Linked DNA regions of Homo sapiens: regions 2, 3, 4, 5 and 6 are each linked to region 1. Evidence: promoter capture Hi-C in human tissues and cell types (Jung and others, 2019). All regions are on one chromosome and are shown on one strand. Each heading gives the region's core, a stretch centred on a gene start or on the middle of the fragment in contact. The rest is flanking DNA. Distances are from core to core; before and after follow the strand shown. Region 1 holds the start of SMDT1 (single-pass membrane protein with aspartate rich tail 1). Region 2 overlaps SERHL2 (serine hydrolase like 2). Region 3 holds the start of RRP7A (ribosomal RNA processing 7 homolog A). Region 4 has its middle 21 kb from the start of RRP7A. Region 5 overlaps MEI1 (meiotic double-stranded break formation protein 1). Region 6 has its middle 11 kb from the start of LINC01315.

Region 1 (3,235 bases), core at 513-3,012:
CGGGCGCAGTGGCTCACACCTGTAATCCCAGCACTTTGGGAGGCTGAGGCGGGCGGATCACGAGGTCAGAAGTTCGAAATCAGCCTGGCTAACATAGTGAAACCCCGTCTCTACTAAAAATACAAAAAATTAGCCGGGTGTGGTGGTACATGCCTGTAGTCCCAGCTACTCAGAAGGCTGAGGCAGAAGAATCACTTGAACCCGGGAGGCGGAGGCTGCAGTGAGCCAAGATTGTGCCACTGTACTCCAGCCTGGGTGACAGAGTGAGACTCCGTCTCAAAAAAAAAAAAAAGGAGATAAGGTGACTGTTATGGCCATCAAAATGGACGAAAAGTCCACTGGAAAGAAAAGTCTAAGGCACCCTAGACATCTAAAGTTAGGACACAGCCTGCTAATTACTTTAAATCCCTACAGGCAATCGGGTGCACCAGTACTAGGAGGGCCAGACTACGGTGAGCTCTGCCTGAACACGAAATACACGAAAACCGATGACAGAAAGATGTACAGTGAAGGGATATTCTACACAGTTCACTAAGTAACAGGTTCCCTGATGCCTGAGAAATTTGATTTAAAAATTTTAGAAACAGATGTATTTGAAAGTGGGCATGTATTTACACTCAAAGACTTTAGATGGATTGGGAGAATGTCAGTAAAATCTCAGCAACATTTCTCTCGTATTCCTAGAATTAAAAAAATTTTTTTTTCAACTGTTTTGATAAGGCAGGTCTTTCCCAACATGGACCTACAGTCAATTGTGTGAGTTAGCATAGGCTAGACTAGCTTTAAGAGAATTTGTTTTTTTAACTCCCACACCACACAGCCCTGCAGTCGTAAAGCAAACTTTCGCTTGATATAAGGGACTGTTTCCGTTTTCCCTAGAAAAACTCAAGCATGTGATAGCGTTCAGTGTTGGAAAAAGACAGGACCTGGTGGGGACGGTACCAGGAAGAAACCCGGATGCTGCGTCCTCAGCGCTGGCCTTGGATACGAGCTTCACCGCTCTAGCCCGATTCTTCATTTGAAAACCCGTGATTGTAATAATTCCCTGCACATCTATCAGGACTGTAAATCACATGAATTAAATATTAGGTGACAACTAATAAAAAGATGAGGCCCGTCCCACGTACCCTTTATTTACAGAGTCCTTTCAAAATTCATATTTCATCCCATAAACTAGGAGACAGGCAGGGCAGAGATTACAGGACTGCTCTAAGCTAGAAGCACACGGCCTAGTCTTCTGACTCCAGAGGAGCAGAGCACCGCACCTCTCAGGACAAGCTAATGTAAAAGGCCAACTTCCTCAGCGTTTGCCCCCCATCTTCTGTCTACCTACCATTTTCTACACACCTGTCAAAATTAGCAACTCATTAGCGTATTCTTGGTCCGCCTTCCAGTCTACGGTAATCGTTATGATTGGCCTTGGCTCCTATCAATCAGCGCCGCCCTCACGCACTCCCCACAATGATTGGCCTCAGCCCCTTCGCCCCGTCTCCAGGAGGACACTCACTTTCACCGGTTTGGGCAAAATGGCGCCGCTGCGGGTAACGATGACTGACCTCGACGGTACCAGGCTCCGGCCTGAGCCGCTCCATGCGGCGGAGACATCGCCATCTTTCCTCAAGCTAGGCCCGCTCCGGAGAGCCCCGGACCTGACGGGTGCCAATACTAGCCAGCGAGCCGCTCCGGACGCCATGCCCCCAGCTCCGCCCCTCACCCGGGCACCCGCACCCCACCGCCCAGCCCTCGTGCCGCCCTCGGGAAGAAAGCCGCCCGAAGCCTCGCGAGAGTTTGAGGAGTACACGAGAAGCCCAGCCCTCCCACTCGCGCAGTGCCGGCGGCTCCTGGGGCGGCGGGAGGGAGGTGTTTGTCACTGGCCGGCATGGTGGCGTCACGAGAGTGGCGGCGCAGCCCCGGCTCCCTCAGTCCGCGTCCTGCTGGGCGTGGCCGCGGTCTTGGGTCCGCCCGGCCGTCAGAACAGGCCTCAGCGGCCGGTTGTGGAAATAAACCCAGGGAGCGGAAGGAGTAATAACGAAAAAGCTTTACTAGTGTTTTAACCGTGTACAAAACACTGTAGCAATAAGAGAAAGGCCCGTGCTATCTGTGTTTAAACAAAATGCAGTGGCTGCGGGGCTTCCAGGCAGGGCTGGGGAACAGGCCGGGCGCCCGCCTTGGGCGCATCTCCGCCTCTTAGGGGTAAGAGGCTCAGAGCCTACCCCTTAGGCCTAGTTGGATGCGGGTCGGTCCTGCCCAAGGCCCCAGTGAGGGGAGCCGAGGCTAGGAAGGGGCAAGTTTTATGTGTTTGGGAGGGGGTGTCTCTTCCCGGCCTCTGCGTCTTCCCCCTGGAGCGTCAGTATGGTCAGGCTCTGGTGACCCAGCCGCTTTGCCTCCCGACTTTGGGAAGAGTAGCAAGGAGAGGTCCTGGCAAGTACACCCTGGGTGACAAACGGCTATGAGAGTTCCCAGGTGATTTCTCGAGCAGCTTCAGTTTACCGGAGCCCAGCCAGGAGAGAGAATTTTAGCACAGGAAACGCAATCCCGTGTCCAAGCTCCTAGAATACCCAGGACTGAGAACCAAAGCAACAGACTTTTCCCAGGGAGCCACACTGCCTCCCCACCTCTTCTTTAACCCCTCACTTGGCAGCTCCAGGAGTTGGCTGCTGAAGACAGAGTACAGGAGGGCATTTCGTTGACGTAAAAAAGCTACAAGCCCCTTCCGGGGCAAGGTCCAGCACCATCTGTTAACAGGGCAGCCAGGGAGAAAGGATGGGACCCCAGCACTCTGAGCAGAATAAATCTCTCTTCACTGGCCGAAGACCCTCTGCCTCAAAGGGCCCTACCCAGACTGCTGAGTGAGGATCCCATCCCCAATCTTCCCACCCCTCTCAGGAAGAGCTGGGTCCCAGAAACTCCTATGACACAATAAATCCACTTTCTCTGACAGTGTCAGAGCTTCAAGCCGATACTGCAGCCTACCTCGGATTTAAGTGCACAGGAGACTCCCCAGGTTGGAAATTATGGCTCTAGAGCCCGGTGTGTAGGCCAAAGGTATGGCAAGCCTGTGACAGTCTCGGGTGACATTCCCCACTTCCTTCATTTCATTAACATCCCCTGGGAGGGGGCAGTCAGGCCAGTGCAGTCAGGAGATTGGGGTCTTGCTCTGTGGCTGCTAAGTCTCCTTCCTTCTCTGGACCTCAGGAAATAAAGAGGATGGAAGGAATGGTCCCGCAGTCCCTTC
Region 2 (3,235 bases), core at 187-2,686, 490 kb before region 1:
GCCTTAGTGGGTAGGGAGGACCACCCAACAGCTGGTATTGTTCATCTAGAAAAACAATTACAATGGCTGGCTGCAGTGGCTCACACCTGTAATCCCAGTACTTTGGGAAACTGAGGCGGGAGGATAGCTTGAGCCCAGGCATTCAAGACCAGCCTGGGCAACATGGCAAGACCCTGTCTCTACAAAAGTAAAAAATTTAGCTGGGTGTGGTAGCGCACACCTGTAGTCCTAGCCACTCCGGAGGCTGAGGTGGGAAGATCACTTCAGCCCAGGAGGTTGAAGCTGTGTGAGCCATAATTGAGCCATGGCACTCCAGTCCGGGTGACAGAGGGAGACCCTGTCTCTACAATTCAAATAGACCGAACACTGTGGCTCATGCCTGTAATCCCAGCACTTTGGGAGGTCGAGGCAGGCAGATCACCTGAGGTCAGGAGTTCGAGACCAGCCTGGACAACATGGTGAAACCCCATCTCCACTAAAAACACAAAAATTAGCCAGGTGTGGTGGTGGGTGCCTGTAATCCCAGCTACTTGGGGGCTGAGACAGGAGAATCACTCGAACCTGGGAGGCAAAGGTTGCCGTGAGCTGAGATAGTGCCATTGCACTCCAGCCTTTGCAACAAGAGCGAGACTCTGTATCAATAATAATAATAATAATAATAATAAAATTAAAGAAAAATCGAACTTTTATTTTTTTTATTTATTTATTTTTTTTTTGACATGGAGTCTCGCTCTGTCGCCCAGGCCGGACTGCGAACTGCAGTGGCGCAATCTCGGCTCACTGCAAGCTCTGCTTCCCGGGTTCACGCCATTCTCCTGCCTCAGCCTCCCGAGTAGCTGGGACTACAGGCGCCTGCCACCGCGCCCGGCTAATTTTTTGCATTTTTAGTAGAGACGGGGTTTCACCTTGTTAGCCAGGATGGTCTCGATCTCCTGACCTTGTGATCCACCCGCCTCGGCCTCCCAAAGTGCTGGGACTACAGGCGTGAGCCACCGCGCCCGGCCGAAAAATCGAACTTTTAAAACACAAAAAAGAAAAAAAGAAAAGAAAATGAATCACTATCTGACACCATGCTCAAGAACAAATCCCACACGGATCAAAGACAAACACGTTAACATTCCCAGACCATTGGCTGACGCCCTGGTCCAAGCCTCATCTCTTGGCCTGGGCCTGGGCAGCAGCTCTCAGCGGTCTCCCTGCAGTTAGAGCGTCCCCACCTCTAATGACAGTGTCTCACATGTGTCCAATGTTCTACCATATTTTAACAATCACAAAATAGCACAGGCCATGAGCACCTGAAGCGACAGCACTGTGCGAGGCCACTCAACACACATGACCTCACCTAGTCTCGACAACAACCCTTCAAAGGCAGGCCCAGGGCTTGGCTCCCCTAGCCAAGCTGCTCATAAACCAGCTGAGCGAATGAAAGCACTTTCTTTTTGCACGTGAGACAACCAAGGCTCAGAGAGGGTAAGCACCTTGCCCAAGGTCCTACAGCCCCTCACTGGCAGAGATGGCCAAGTTTCTATTAATACAAGTGCTCCAGTGACACAGGCCTCCAGATGGGACGCTGTTTTTTGAGAACCTTTGTCATCCTGCCCCTCCCCTCTTTAATCTTCACAGCCTCTATCAGGAATCCCCCTCTCAACAGATGCACCGAGCTGACTTCGAGCTTTTCCCTGTGCAGCAGCCAGTGCCTGGGATGTCTCCCTCCTCTCCTCACCTCCATCGACTGTATTTAATGCCACTGAAGTGCATACTTACAAACGGTTAAATTGACAATCATTAAGTATTATGTTAGCTATATAATTTCTTTTGTTTTTTTTTTCTTGAGATGGAGTCTCGCTCTGTCGCCCAGGCTGCAGTGCAGTGGTGCTATCTCGGCTCAATGCAACCTCTGCCTCCCATTCAAGCGATTGTCCTGCCTCAGCCTCCTGAGTAGCTGGGATTACAGGCGTGAGCCACCACGCCTGGCCTGTAATTTTCAAAAACGACAAAGACGCTAACAGGCAAACCTTGGCGGGGGACCCGGAGGCAGTGGTACTCACCCAGGCGAGCCTCTGGTCTCTGTTCAGAACCAGACCTGGAGGCGGAAGCACAAAGACAGCAGCGTCAATGCTGTCCATCAGGGTCAGGGGACGCTCCGTGACTTTGCTGGAACCCTCCAGGCCTTTGCAGCCAGGGCCCATTTCTCCCACCTGCCCCCGACGTCCTCAGCTGCCCAGGACTCCCTGTCCTGGGGTCCAGCTGGAGCAGGGCTAGACCACAGCCACCTGGCCACAGACCTGTCAGCCCACATGGGCCCTCACCGGCCACCCCAAAGGGCCGGTGCAGAATGAGGGCGGGAGCTTAGGCTAATAGCCTCGTGGACGGTGGAGCTCTAGTCTCTGAGAAACTCATTCATTCCTTTAGTCACTAGGAAGAAGCAAATAAGTACCAATGGTGTCACTGGTTGTGGTGAGCTGAGATCGTGCCACTGCACTCCAGCCTAGGCGACAGAGCAAGACTCTGTCTCAAAAAATCAAACAAAAACCACTAAAAAACCATACATATATGATATACCAACAAGATTTTCTTGGTGGGGGGCCTAAACCACCTGATTCTCAAGTTCACGTGGAAAAATTACACAGGTAAGAATAGCAGGAGGTCAGGCACCTGTAATTCCAGCACTTTGGGAGGCCGAAGTGGGAGGATCACTTGAGACCAGCGTGGGCAATGGAGCAGGACCCCATCTCTACACAAAAAAACTAAAAAATTAGCCAAGGCCAGGCATGGTGGCTCAAGCCTGTAATCCCAGCACTTTGGGAGGCCGAGGCAGGCGAATCACGAGGTCAGGAGTTCAAGACCAGCCTGGGCAATATGGTTAAACCTGGTCTCTACTAAAAATACAAAAATTAGCTGGGCGTAGTGGCAGGTGCCTGTAATCCCAGTTACTCGGGAGGCTGAGGCAGGAGAATCGCTTAAACCCGGGAGGCAGAGGTTGCAGTGAGCCGAGATCGAGCCACTGCATTCCAGCCCAGGTGACAGAGTGAGACTCCGTCTCAAAAAAAAAAAAAAGATGTGAGGGTGATCTGGCTGCGACATCTGTCACCCCATTGATCGCCAGGGTTGATTCAGCTGATCTGGCGGCTAGGCGGGTGTCCCCTCCCTTCCTTACCGCTCCATGTGCGTCCCTCCCGAAACTGTGCACTCGGTCGAAGAGGACGACCATCCCCGATAGAGGAGGACCGGTCTT
Region 3 (3,235 bases), core at 736-3,235, 440 kb before region 1:
AAAAAAGGCTTATGCCTGTAATCCCAGCACTTTGGGAAGCCGAGGTGGGCGGATCACAAGGCCAAGAGATCGAGACTATCCTGGCCAATATGGCGAAGCTCTGTGTCTATCAAAAATAAGAAATTTAGCTGGTCATGGTGGTGCACACCTGTAATCCCAGCTACTCAGGAGGCTGATGCAGGAGAATTGCTTGAACCCAGGAGGCGGAGGTTGCAGTGAGCGGAGATCGCGCCACTGCACTCCAGCCTGGCGACACAGCGAGACTCCATCTCAAAAAAAAAAAAAAAAAAGTGATGTTGTGTGGCCAGTCCTGATATCCATCGAGATGGCTCCTTGAAGCGTGGAAGCAATACATGAGAGGGAGATAACAGAACGATGGTGGCAGGGCACTGAGAAGGAGCCAAAGGCCTCGGGGAGGGGGATGTGCAGGCACAGATTTATTATGCAACATCTGAGAAGCCAGATGACCGTATTTCTGGAGGGTTCACCAGAGACTGCTTTGACTAGTGGGGGGTCTAGGCATCAATGGGCAATCGGCATGGCCGTCCTCTGAGGCCAGGGTAGAAGAGGGCAAATAGGACTGGAGCCGGGCTCGGAAAGGTCAGCAGGAGATAGGATTCCAGAGAGCAGAGGTTCGGTTGATGTGACTGTCAGAACAGGAGCAAGGCCAGAGTGGCTGCCAGGGATCCTGGGCGCACAGGAGTCTCTGGTGAATGCTAGTAGACCACGGTATTCCCAGGGGCCACGGAAGCCCCAACACTGCTTGACTGCGCTAAGCAAAGAAAGATCAAAAACAAAAAACGAGCGAACAGGACAGTAATGGCAGCTGCTGATGGAAAATCCCAACCCCTCATCCAGTTTCCAGGCCTAAGCTAGGCCTCAGAACCAGAGGTCACTGACTGAAAGGGAGGCTGGGTCCCCTCCAGACCACAAATATTTGCAGTAGTAGGCTCCTAATCTTTCCCCAAAGGGGCCGACAGCATTTCCAAGAAGCAACTGTACACTGGGAAAAGAGAAATAGTAGATACATCAAGGGCTGGCGGGTACACAGTCTGAGAGGCCCTTTGGAGTCCAGAAAAGTGGAGTCCTTGGACTTCATTTCTCCCCTATCTACACTTGCTCCCTTGGCGATCACACCCTCTCATAACTTTCTTTTTTTTTCTCTTTCTTTTTTTTTTGAGACAGAGTCTCGCTCTGTTGCCCAGGCTGGATTGCAGTGGGGCGATCTTGGCTAACTGCAATCTCCGCCTCCTGGGTTCAAGCGATTCTCCTGCCTCAGCCTCCCGAGTAGCTGGAATTACAGGCATGCACTACCACGCCCGGCTACTTTTTGTACCTAGTAGACACGGGGTTTCACCATGTTGGCCAGGCTGGTCTGGAACTCCTGACCTCAAGTGATCCGCCCCCCTCGGCCTCCCAAATTGCTGGGATTACAGGCATGAATCACCGCACCCGGCTCCTCTCGTAACTGTCAATAACCTATCCATGGCCAGTCCCGTGTGTATTGCTCCAGGCCTGACATCTCTGATGTTCAGTCTGTTCAGTCTCATATCTAAGTGCCCACCTGACATGTCCCCTGAGTGGCCTAATGGGCATCTCACCACGGCTCACAGAGAACTGATCTACTCCATTTTCACCCCCAAGCAGGCCCCTCTCCTGCAGTCTTCCCATCTCAGTCAATGGCAACACCATCCTCTTAGTTGCTCAGACTGAAAACCTAGCAGCCATCCTGGATTTCTCTCACACTGCCTATTCAACGTGTGAATGCATGAGTGGAAAGCTGAGTTCGCACTCGTGACTGGCCGGGGTCAACTCTGACATTCGCTCCCACTTTCGCGCGCTGATTTATCTCTGAGCGGATGAAGGTTGGGCCATGGCGGGCGGGGCCGGGGAGGCGGGCTTGGAGTGAGGGGGCGGGGCAGGCGCCACGAAAACGCGCTCGCGCCGGCGCCGAACCGCAACTCCCGGCGGCCCCCGCGCTCCCGGGTGGCAAGATGGTGGCGCGCAGGAGGAAGTGCGCCGCGCGGGACCCGGAGGACCGTATCCCCAGCCCACTGGGCTACGCAGGTGAGGGGCTCCGGGACGCGAGACCGGGGGCGGTCAGGCATCGCCGGGAGGTGTTTGGGGGTTGGCGACGGCCGGGGGTCCCCAGGAGCGGCCGCACGGTTGGGTGTGAGCCCCGGTGGCCCGTGGCCCCAGGCTCCGCAGGTCTTGAGGCTCCGGGGTCCCGAGGACCCAGGCGGCGCCCTTCTGCCTGCTCACTCTCCCGGGGCGAGCCCAACTTGGTCCACGCTTCCCTTGGGTGAGCCCGCCTCTGTCCACACTCTCACCCAGGACAAACCCATTTCCGTCCACACCCGCTCGTCCAGGTGAGCCCATCCCCTTCTCATCGCCTCTGCTCCTAGTCCATCCCCCATCAGCTCTTACCTGGGCTGTTATAGGCCCTCCTACTCGGTTGCCCTCCTTCTCCTCTTGCCCCTGCTTCTGTTCTCCACCCACGTGCCAGAATGTTCTTTTAAGGACATTTAGATTCGATCATGTCTGCCGCGCCCACGATAGGCGCCACACCTACTGCATTCCCTCCAGTGGCTTTATCAGGTAGCTTCTAAAACAAAAACCAGACTTCTTAACCTGTGTGGGCCACGTGGTCTGGCTGGTGCCGACCTAAAGCTCTTTCTGTTCCTCTGAGGGAACATGCTTTTTCCCCCCTCTGGGTTTTTGCACGTGCTGTGCCGGTTTGTTGCACAGTGGCGTTCTGGCCTGAGCTTTAATGTTGCTTCCTCAAAGAGGCCATCCGTGATGGCCTATGGAAAGAAGACCTCTGCCACCCCATCACCCTGTAATGTTTCTTTCACAATTGATACAAGTTTGCTGTATGCTTGTTAATTGTCTTCTCCGTTATTGCAACTGAGCTTCCTGAGTTCAGGGACCGCAGCTCTACGCCAACCGGTACTGTGACGGAGGTGTGAGAAAAATAGAAGCAGTTCCTAGCTTTATGAGGATTACAGTCATGGGTGTGCCAGCGATTAACCAAAGAATCTCATCAATATAGCCTCCAGACTGTTAAGAGAAGCTGTGAAGGCACAGGCAGTGGGATCTGAGCTGGCAGGAGGGGCGGAGGTGATGCTAAGGCTCTCCTGAGGAAGCGAGGTTTGAGCTAAACCTGAGGTGAGCGGGAGGGAAGAGGGTGACACGCCAGGTAGAGAGGCCAGCATGTGTGAGGCCCTGGTGTACC
Region 4 (3,235 bases), core at 415-2,914, 420 kb before region 1:
TTTCTCCATGTTGGTCAGGCTGGTCTCGAACTCTCAACATCCGGTGGTGAGCCCGCCTCGGCCTCCCAAAATGCTGGGATTACAGGTGTGAGCCACCCAACCCGGCCTGGTCAAACTAACTTTTAAGTATAAAAATAGCAGATTGTCAGGCCGGACGCAGTGGCTCACGCCTGTAATTCCAACACTTTGGAAGGCCAAAGCAGGCAGATCACTTGAGGTCAGGAGTTCAAGACCAGCCTGGTCAAAATGGCTAAACTGCGTCTCTACTGAAAATAGAAAAACAGCTGGGCGTGGTGGTGCACGCTTGCAATTTCAGCTACTCAGGAGGCTGAGGCAGGAGAATCGCTCGAACTTGGGGGATGGAGGTTGCAGTGGGCCCAGATCGCGGCAGTGCACTCCAGCCTGGGTGACAGAGTGAGTTAAAAAGAAAAAAAAAATAGCAGATTCTCACCAATGTGCAGGAACCCAGAGAATATTGTTCCCAAAGCCTTTCCTGAGGAATTACTAGAAAATAAGCTTCAGACAACCAACGAGACTAAAAAGACATTGACATTAGCCTGGTGTGAACATTAAAGATATATTTACATGGAGAACCAAGAGAAGATGAGGAGTAAAAAGGAGAGGATGGAGTGTAATGGTTACATTCGCCAACAACATAGACAAAGTACAGCTATAAATAGGGGGAGAAAATGGTGTGGGCATATCTTTAAAGTGTGTGTGTGTGTGTGTGTGTGTGTGTGTGTGTGTGTTTTGTTTTTTGTTTTTTGGCCAGGGACGGTGGCTCAGGCTTGTAGTCTCAGCACTTTGGGAGGCCAAGGCAGGTGGGTGGCTTGAGGTCAGGAGTTCGAGACCAGCCTGGCCGATGTGGCGCAACTTCATTGTAGGGAGACCCCCTGAAACTATTGCTATGGAATAAAAGATGAAATGCTCCTGATTATTGTAAATACAAAATTGCATGCAGGATTGTGTAAAGACAATGCCAGGTTGGACTGCCAGAATGAGCCAATAGCACGTGATGTGCTTCCCCCTGCAGAGAGCCTATGAATGGACTTGCAGTCAGGGAAGTTTCACATCACCAAGATTCGTATCCCAGCAAAGCAGATGTTCATAGCTCTGGGAATGGAATGCGACCCTTGTGGAGAGCCTATAAATGGACGCATAGGGGGTGCCTGTCCATATGGATAAGATAGGGCTATAAACGCCCTCATCTTGCCGTGGCTCTTCTAGGCCTCTTTAGGGTTAAGGCATACTCCCTTCTGAGAATTTCTGGTCTAACCGGTTGTCTAGCTTCCTGTTTCCATGGATTGTTTGTAACCAGCTTTTGTTGCAGTTTTTACTACTGATTAAAATCTTGCTAATCATAGGTTATGGAAAGACTGTGTTTCTGTTTTAAGGCTCTGTTAGAAATTACTGACGCACACACTATGTTGTAAATTCTTATCTCTGTATACTATACTTCTACATACAAATGTACTGTACTTCTACATACAAATGTTATGTTAAAGAATTGCTTCATCCCCATGTGACCATCTCACCTCATAATCAAATGACCCTAAATCCCTCACTAACCTACCCCCGACCTCACTAAACTTAATAATAAATGCTGGTATATCCCGTGCATTGTTGGCACTGAGGGACCAGAAGGCAGTGACCCCCCTGGACCCAGCTTTCACTATCTTGTGTGTGTCTATTATTTCTCAACCTGCCAATCCGCTTGGGAACAAAGAGAGAGCCCCGTTGCATTGCAGGCTGCTGGCCAGATCCTGCAATACTTCATCTCTACTAAAATACAAAAATTAGCCAGGTGTGGTGGTGGGCGCCTGTAATCCCAGTTACTTGGGAGGCTGGGGCAGGAGAATCACTTGAACCCAGGAGGTAGAGGTTGCAGTGAGCTGAGATCACACCATTGCACTCCAGCCTGGGTGACAGAGCAAGACTCCGTCTCAAAGAAAAAAAAAAGTAATAATAATACTAAAGTAAAATAAAATGTTTTGGAACTGTTTTTAGTGATCATATGGACTGGTAATGTTATATTTTTATTCTAAGAATGTTTTCGAACATGGGACAAAGCAATTAGTAATTATGTGATATTCAAATTCTATCATCCCCAGTGGCCAGAGAACTGAATTCTTGGTGTAGGGAAAAGGAGTTACAGATGTGAAATAGAAGAGAATGAGTAACATCTTGTCTCCTGAATTTGAATCAGAAGTATCAGTATGTTTCATGAGGCATCTTATCTTAAAAAAAATACACAAATTCACATATACATATACACACACACACAAACACCTTGTAGCTGTGTACTTAGAAAGAGTCTTAACAAAAACATAAAAAGCTTAATCTGATTAACACTCTAGATGCAATGATCAATTTACAGGAGGAAAAAATGAAACCTGTTAACCTATACCACAGGAATGTAACCAGCAAAATCCAGACTATGGGAAGCGATACAAATTAACCATCCCAAATTTTTCAATAAAAAATTGAGAGAGAATAAAGAGATGCAGGGGGAATCTATAGATTGAAAGAGACTCTTAAAAGCAGGCAGTACTAACTATAATATTTAGGGAGACTATATTAATTTTCTATGCTGTGCAACAAGTTACTACAAATTTAGCAGATTTTTTTCTTTTTTTTTGAGATGGAGCCTCATACTGTTGCCAGGCAGTGGTGCAATCCTGGCTCACTGCAAACTCTGCCTCCTGGGTTCAAGCGATTCTCCTGCCTCAGCCTCCCGAGTAGCTTGGAATGACAGGCATGCGCCACCACGTCCAGCTAATTTTGTATATTTAGTAGAGACGAGGTTTCACCATGTTAGCCAGGCTGATCTCGAACTCCCGACCTTAGGTGATCAGCCCGCCTTGGTCTCCTAAAGTGCTGGGATTGCAGGCGCAAGCCACTGCGCCCGGCCCTTTTTTTTTTTTTTTTTTTTTTTTAAGACAGAGTTTCACTCTTGTTGCCCAGGCTAGAGTGCAGTGGCAGGATCTCGGCCCACTGCAACCTCCGCCTTCTGGTTTTCACGCGATTCTTCTGCCTCAGCCTCCCGGGTAGCTGGGATTACAGGTGCCCACCACCACGCCCGGCTAATTTTTTTGTATTTTTTAGTAGAGACGGGGCTTCATCATGTTGGCCAGGCTGGTCTTGAACTCCTGACCTCGTGAGCCGCCTGCCTCGGCCTCCAAAGTGCTGGGATTACAGGCATGAGCCACTGTGCCCAGCTGTTTTTTTTTTCTCT
Region 5 (3,235 bases), core at 310-2,809, 290 kb after region 1:
CGAGAATCTCTTGCAACTGGAAGGCAGAGGTTGCAGTGAGCCAAGATCACGCCACTGCACTCCAGCCTGGACAACAGAATGAGAGTCTGTCTCAAAAAACAAAACAAAAAAACAAACAAACTAGTTTTAAACAACAAACTGGTTGAAGGGAATGAAGGAGGCTTAGCTATAGCCATGAGGTCCTGGGCAGTGACAGAGGGGACATTGTGGCTGAACAAAGAAGGCCAGGAAATTTCTCGAGAGTGTGACAGTGAGAGAAAAGAGGAAAAGCCTACTTGGTCCTGTTCACTAGGCAATTATAGGGCAGTCACTGTGAGGCTAAGACAGGCTCCTCAGCAATACCCTCCCATAAGCAGGGTAGGCCCAGCACCTTCTACAGGGGGAGTCATGAGCTTCTCAGGTTGGGTTCCCCTTCCCAGGGACTGTTGAGGACAGACAGTCAAAAACTACCAGAGAGACAAATACAGGATTCCACTTACATGAGGTCCCTACAGTAGTCAAATTCATAGAGATAGCAAGTAAAATGGTAGATGCCAGGGGCTGGGGGAGGGGACTGGGGAATTGTTTAATGGGTACAGAGTTTCAGTTTGGGAAGATGAAAAGATCTAGAGATGGATGATGGTGAAAGTTGCACAACAATGTGAATGTACTTAATGCCACTGACCCATATACTTAAAATGATTAAAATACTAAATTGTATGTTATATATAGTTTACTACAATTAAAACAAGGCCAGGTGCAGTGACTCACACCTGTAATCCTAGCACTTTGTGAGGCCAAAGCCAGAGGATTGCTTGAGCCCAGGAGGTCAAGACCAGCCTGGACAACATAGTGAGATATCATCTCTACGAAAGTATTTTATTTTTTATTTATTTATTTTTTGAGATGGAGTCTTGCTCTGTCACCCAGGCTGGAGTGCACTGGCATGATCTTGGCTCACTGCAACCTCCACCTCCCGGGTTCAAGTGATTCTCCTGCCTTGGCCTCCCAAGTAGCTGGGATTACAGGTGCGCGCCACCACGCCCGGCTAATTTTTTTGTATTTTTAGTAGAGATGAGGTTTCACCCTGTTGGCCAGGCTGGCCTCAAATTCCTGACAAGTGATCCGCCCGTCTTGGCTCCCAAAGTGCTGAGATTACAGGCATGAGCCACTGCGCCTGGCCTTACTACCAATACAAAAGTATTTTAAAATTAGCTGGGCATGGTGGTGTATACCCGTAGTCCCAGCTATTCAGGAGGTTGAGATGGGAGGATCACTTAAGCTCAGCAGGTTAAGGTGGCAGTGAGCCATGATCATGCCACTGTACTCTAGCTTGGGCGACAGCAAGACCCTATCTCAAAAATAAAAATAAACAGTTGCCAGAGGCAGAGTTGAATGTCACAGGCCAGGGAGACACCTAGGCTCTTGGGCATGAGAGGCGAATGGTGAAAGTGCTATACAATACTTCACTGGTGGCTGGGCACGTTGGCTCACACCTGTAATCCCAGCACTTTGGGAGGCCGAGGTGGGCAGATCACCTAAGGTTGGGAGTTTGAGACCAGCCTGGCCAACATGGTGAAACCCTGTCTCTACTAAAAATACAAAAATTAGCCAGGCATGGTGGCACACACCTGTAATCCCAACTACTCAGGAAGCTGAGGCAGAAGAATCGCTTAAACCCAGGAGGTGGAGGTTGCAGTGAGCTGGGATCATACCACTGCACTGCAGCCTGGGTGACAGAGCAAGACTATGTCTCAAAAAAAACAAAACAAAACCCACAAACCTCACTGGCACCCCACCCTAGTGTTTAGGCTATTGGTTTGAAGAAGGCTTTTTCATCACTCAAGGCCCAGTTCAAATGCTACCTCTCCTGTGCAGCCTTCCAATACAGGTTGAGGCTGGGCACGCCTGTAATCCCAGCACTTTGGGATGCCGAGGCAGGTGGATCACTTGAGGTCACGAGTTCGAGACCAGCCTGGCCAACATGGTGAAACCTCATGTCTACTAAAAATACAAAATTAGCCAGGCATTGTGGTGCGTACCTGTAGTCCCAGGTACTTGGGAGGCTGAGGCAGGAGAATCACTTAACTCAGGAGGCAGAGGTTGCAGTGAGCTGGGATTGCACCACTGCACTCCAGCCTGGGTGACAGAGCGAGACTCCATCTCAAAAACAAACAAAAAAACAAATACTGGTTGAGTATCTGTAATTAAAAATTTGAAATCTGAAATATCCCCATATCCAAAACTTTTGAGCACCAACATGATGCTCAAAGCAGATGCTCATTGGGCATTTCGGATTTTGGACTTTTGTATTAGGAATGCTCAACTGCTAATAGGTCATTTTGGTATTAGATGTAGTTATTTGTGTTTCCTATAATCTGTGAGTGCCTAAATGGCTGGGATCATGTAATGTTAATTTCTGTGGTTTTCATCCATTCAACAAACATTCCCAGATGCCAACTTTGTGCCAAGCTCTGTGCTGGGTATTGGGAAATCATTCCCCCCACACCTCCTGTTCTGAATCTTAAAACAGGAACATCAGCGCTTTTAGAAACATTAGGGAGAAAGCATTTCCCTAACTGGCCCTCCTCACCCAAGGAAGGTTTTATCTAGCAGGCAAGATACTAGCTTAAGATCTACTGTGCCATCAGGGCAGGATTAAGGTATTAAAGATTATGCTCCCATGAACTTAAACTCTTAAGATCCTGGCCAGCTGGCTAAGTGTCCATAATGCAAACACAGTTTTTCCCGCCTGTGGACCCCTGGTCTGGCAAGAAGGAGGGTGTTTTAAAAAGCTCATTTTGGACAGATATGATTAAGCAAGTATAATAAAATGTTATTAGTAGAATCTAGGTGTTGGGTGTATGAATGTTCACTGTAAAACTCTCTCATTGCTGTATGTTTGAAAAACTGCAGGAAAAAAAAAGCCCATTCTGTTCCAGAGTCCCAGCCAATATTCTACTATGATGTTTACCAGCAATAAAGCTTATGTTTTGGTTCTCATCTGATTCCTGCATTCTAAATTAGCTTTAAACCCACAAGGGGAAGGACACACAAAGATTAACCAGACCCAGACTCTGCCCTTGAGTATATCACAGCCTGGTTGGGGGAATAGTGATATGAAAATGGAAACTTGAAACAGAGAGCTAAGTGCTATAATAGGATAGATGTTTGATCCCTAAAGAGCACAGAGCCTTGTGCAAGGATGTGCCACAGGACAAGACTCAACAACCGCTAACTCAGCATAGGGCCCACT
Region 6 (3,235 bases), core at 228-2,727, 280 kb before region 1:
TGGATTGGGGAAGGCTTAAGTGCCAGGAGGAGCAGCAGAGGCCTGGGGTGGAATCTTAGCTCTCATCCTCCAGCTGCGTGATCCTGCACACATCGCTCCCTCTCTCTGGGCCTCAGTTGCCCCATCAGTGTACTCCTGATCACGTACATGCTTCCCCGCTGCAGTGTCCTGCCTCACAAAGAGGGAGAGACTTAAGCCTGGAAGGCCCCAGGGGAAGAGAAGTCTGCCAGGAACAGCATGGTGAGCAGGGGAAACAGAATGTGCCAAGACGTGGGGTCCTTCTCCTGAGCTGCACTTCTCCAGTCCCTCCCTCAGTGCAGGGAGGACCATGATGGGGTGGCCTGGCTGTCCCCAGCGGGGCCCAGGCCTGGGGTGTGCTTGGCTCTGCACTTGAGGGGCCACTCTGCTTTGGGCCTCACATACTGTTGGACACCACAGCCCCGGGAGACAGGGCCTTCCTCCAAGCTGCAGACGCCAGGCTGAGAGCAGCGAGGTAACCAACAGCTACACCAAACACGTGGCTGGTAAATGGCAGACAAAGGACTTGAACCCAGCCCTGCCTGGCCCTGATTCCTGCTGTCCTTTAGCAAGACTGAGCCACATCCTCTGGGAGGGCCAGGTCTGGGAAGAGGCAGTAGAGTGCAGGTGAAATGCCTGCTCGCCACGGGCTCCCGAGCCGTGGTCCCCACTCCATCCCTCCCCTGGGCTGCCCTGATCACGGCCAATTCCTCCTTTGGGGAAGGTGAGTTGGGTCCCTGGAAGGCCCTCTGAGCCTCTCCTCTTGGCCGCAGCTTCTCTGAGGACTCGGGATGCTCCTGGAATATTCTAGGTTTATTAACACCCTAAAGCCTCACAACCATCCCTTGAGTAAGGGACCGTTGTAACCCTGTTTTACAGCTGGAGGAACTAAGGCTCAGAAAGGAGCTACCCAGGGGAGGCATACTGGCTTACTGGGGTGTCCTGCTGTGCTCAAGCTCTGAAGACTGTTTTGGGGACAGAGTGCTCAGCCCTAGGGTGGGAGTTTCAGGAGGCCAATTCAGTCTCCACTGAGAAGAGTTTTCTTTCACGCATGCCCAAAGGTGGGGTCTTGGCAGGAGTGATCTTCCCATCACTAGAATTCAAACAACCTCTGCGTGTGGGATGAGGGGAGATTAAGGTCAGAGGTGCTGTTGGACTAAGGAGTCCGGGTATCTTTGACCTATCCAAGCCTCAGTTTCCTTATCTGTGAAATGGGGATTTTTTTTTTCTTATTTTTTTTTAATTCTAATTTTTTTTTTTGAAACGGAGTCTCACTGTGTTCCCCAGGCTGGGGTGCAGTGGTGTGATCTCGGCTCACTGCAAACTCCACCTCCGGGGATCAAGTGATTCTCCTGCCTCAGTCTCCTGAGTAGCTGGGATTACAGGCGCCCACCACCATACCCACCTAATTTTTTTTGTTTTGTTTTGTTTGTTTGTTTTTTGAGACAAACTCTCACTCTGTCGCCCAGGCTGGAGGGCAGTGGCGCAATCTCAGCTCACTGCAACCTCTGCCTCACAGTTTCAAGCGACTCTCCTGCCTCAGCCTCCCAAGTAGCTAGGATTACAGGCACCCGCCACTGCACCCAGCTAATTTTTGTATTTTTAGTAGAGACGGGGTTTCACCATGTTCGCCAGGCTGGTCTCAAACTCCTGACCTCAATTGATCTGCCCACCTCGGCCTCCCAAAGTGCTGAGATTACAGGCGTGAGCCACCACGCCAGGCCAAAATGCGGATATTAATACCCATCTGTCAGAGGCTCTGTAAAGCACCCAGCCTCTTTCTGGCCCAAAGAGTGCCCAGTAAGTGCCATTGTCACCTCCTGGGCCTCTGAGTGTCCCCTCTAATAGTCAGGCTCTCAGAGCAGAGTGGGAAGGGGCCACCTCCAACAGCCCTGCCTAGGAAGAGCAGCCCCATGGACCACCACTGCCTCCTTGTGTGTGGAGGGTGGTGTCCAGGCTGAGGGTCAACCAGCCCCAGACACCTGCCTCCTCTGTCCGCTGGGCTGGGCCGTGGCCAGCTCCTTGAGTAACTGGGAGGGCTACAGTGAGTTACTGGAGAGCAGGGCTCTAGCCCCCACCGATACTGGCCCCAGGAGGGGCAGGGCTCACTCAGAAACCTTGCTGCTCTCATTGCAACACCACCTAGCTAAGCGCAGAGCCTCCCTGCCCTGCAGAGCCTGCTGGCTCCCTAGCTAGGAAACGGCACCATGCCAGGACAGAACGGGATCTGTCCCGAGGCTCCTGTCCGTTGGTATTTGCCAGGCACCTACTCTGTGCCAGGGACTTTCCTTAATCATTCTTCAGGTACAGTCTCATTCACAGGAGAGAAAGCCAAGGTTCAGGGAGTGGAAGCAACTTGGCCAGAGTGATATGAGGGCCAGGGGCTCTAACCCAGGGCTGTGGGACTCTGAAGTCAGTAAGTCATTCTCTATCTAAATCTTGCCATCCCCCAGGCAGGCCAGGGGAAGGAGCACTGGCTTTGGAGCCCTGGAGTGTGAGAGGTGGACCCCAGGCTGGGCAGGAAGACAGACCCAGGCACAGTCCTGAGTCTGCCCTCACATGTTGCCACATTCTGTTCCCCCTGCTCACCATGCTCTTCCTGGCAGACTCAACCCTCGGTCTCGCCAGGTGTGAGTCGCTCTCTCTCTCTGTGAGGCAGGGCACTGCATGGGGAAAGGCACATGTCTGGGAGTCCCATAGGCCTGTTTTCAAATCCTGCTCTGTCACCCACTACTGAGCCTAGAGCACAGGATAAAAAGGGGAACAGCATGCAAACAGGGAACAGCATAGGCAAAGGCCAGAGGATAAGAGGGCCTTCGAGAACCACAGCGGCGATGAGCGGAGCTAGGATCCAGGCAGGGGGGCGGACGTGGGTTGAGCTTCCTGTCCCCTGCTCTGGGCCTCTGTCCAGGCTGTCATCCCTGCCTGGCCCACCCTTCCTCTTCTCCTGTCCAAGCCTTCATGCCTCTAAGTCCCTGCTCACTAACGTCCCCTGTGAGTCCCTTCCTGAACTCCCCTTAAGCTTCTCCTTCCTCAGTGCTCCCACAGCCCCAAGTGCTACCTTGATTTGAGCAGTTAATGACCTGGGTTGTGCAGGTTTCTGTCCTGCATGAGTGTGGGAGTGAGATCTTTGTTTCAGATCCTGGCTCTGGACCTTGTCCACTGGATGACCCTGAACAAGTTCCTTCACCTCTCTGTTTCTTCATCAGCAAGATGA

What was found. Contacts are between HindIII fragments. The study calls those that stand out against the background at their distance.
Region 2: a fragment that was not itself captured here is called in contact with the fragment with the promoter of SMDT1 in region 1 in 1 of the 25 tissues and cell types used here (lymphoblastoid cells).
Region 3: the fragment with the promoter of RRP7A here is called in contact with the fragment with the promoter of SMDT1 in region 1 in 3 of the 25 tissues and cell types used here (dorsolateral prefrontal cortex, lymphoblastoid cells and spleen).
Region 4: a contact is called between a fragment that was not itself captured here and the fragment with the promoter of SMDT1 in region 1, in 4 of the 25 tissues and cell types used here (bladder, dorsolateral prefrontal cortex, stomach and 1 more).
Region 5: a fragment that was not itself captured here is called in contact with the fragment with the promoter of SMDT1 in region 1 in 1 of the 25 tissues and cell types used here (pancreas).
Region 6: a contact is called between a fragment that was not itself captured here and the fragment with the promoter of SMDT1 in region 1, in 1 of the 25 tissues and cell types used here (spleen).

Annotation. Positions count from the first base shown.
Region 1 is chr22:42,078,227-42,081,461 of GRCh38, reverse strand. SMDT1 (single-pass membrane protein with aspartate rich tail 1) reads right to left here and starts at 1,762. Exons shown (of 3, transcript NM_033318.5): 1 at 1,508-1,762. The coding sequence starts at 1,693. PHETA2 (PH domain containing endocytic trafficking adaptor 2) reads right to left here. Exons shown (of 3, transcript NM_001002034.3): 3 at 2,024-3,235. RefSeq lists an enhancer at 1,245-2,017 and a silencer at 2,043-2,337. The HindIII fragment of the contact is 9,212 bases long and covers 1-2,923 here.
Region 2 is chr22:42,565,152-42,568,386 of GRCh38, reverse strand. It overlaps SERHL2 (serine hydrolase like 2), which reads right to left. Exons shown (of 12, transcript NM_014509.5): 9 at 2,049-2,083. It also overlaps the pseudogene RN7SKP80. Among named protein-coding and RNA genes, the nearest start is that of SERHL2, 13 kb to the right of the region's middle. The HindIII fragment of the contact is 5,729 bases long and covers 1-3,235 here.
Region 3 is chr22:42,518,546-42,521,780 of GRCh38, reverse strand. RRP7A (ribosomal RNA processing 7 homolog A) reads left to right here and starts at 1,985. Exons shown (of 7, transcript NM_015703.5): 1 at 1,985-2,067. The coding sequence starts at 1,995. LOC124900479 (a long non-coding RNA gene) reads right to left here. Exons shown (of 3, transcript XR_007068117.1): 1 at 2,428-3,235. RefSeq lists enhancers at 784-1,078, 1,604-1,663 and silencers at 1,844-1,903, 1,924-2,093, 2,104-2,233. The HindIII fragment of the contact is 27,172 bases long and covers 1-3,235 here.
Region 4 is chr22:42,496,820-42,500,054 of GRCh38, reverse strand. No RefSeq gene overlaps it. Among named protein-coding and RNA genes, the nearest start is that of RRP7A, 21 kb to the left of the region's middle. RefSeq lists silencers at 1-68, 978-1,272 and enhancers at 269-770, 856-1,376. The HindIII fragment of the contact is 5,441 bases long and covers 1-3,235 here.
Region 5 is chr22:41,786,959-41,790,193 of GRCh38, reverse strand. All of the region lies in intron 26 of MEI1 (meiotic double-stranded break formation protein 1), which reads right to left. Among named protein-coding and RNA genes, the nearest start is that of CCDC134, 12 kb to the left of the region's middle. The HindIII fragment of the contact is 8,169 bases long and covers 1-3,235 here.
Region 6 is chr22:42,356,819-42,360,053 of GRCh38, reverse strand. No RefSeq gene overlaps it. Among named protein-coding and RNA genes, the nearest start is that of LINC01315, 11 kb to the left of the region's middle. The HindIII fragment of the contact is 3,994 bases long and covers 1-3,235 here.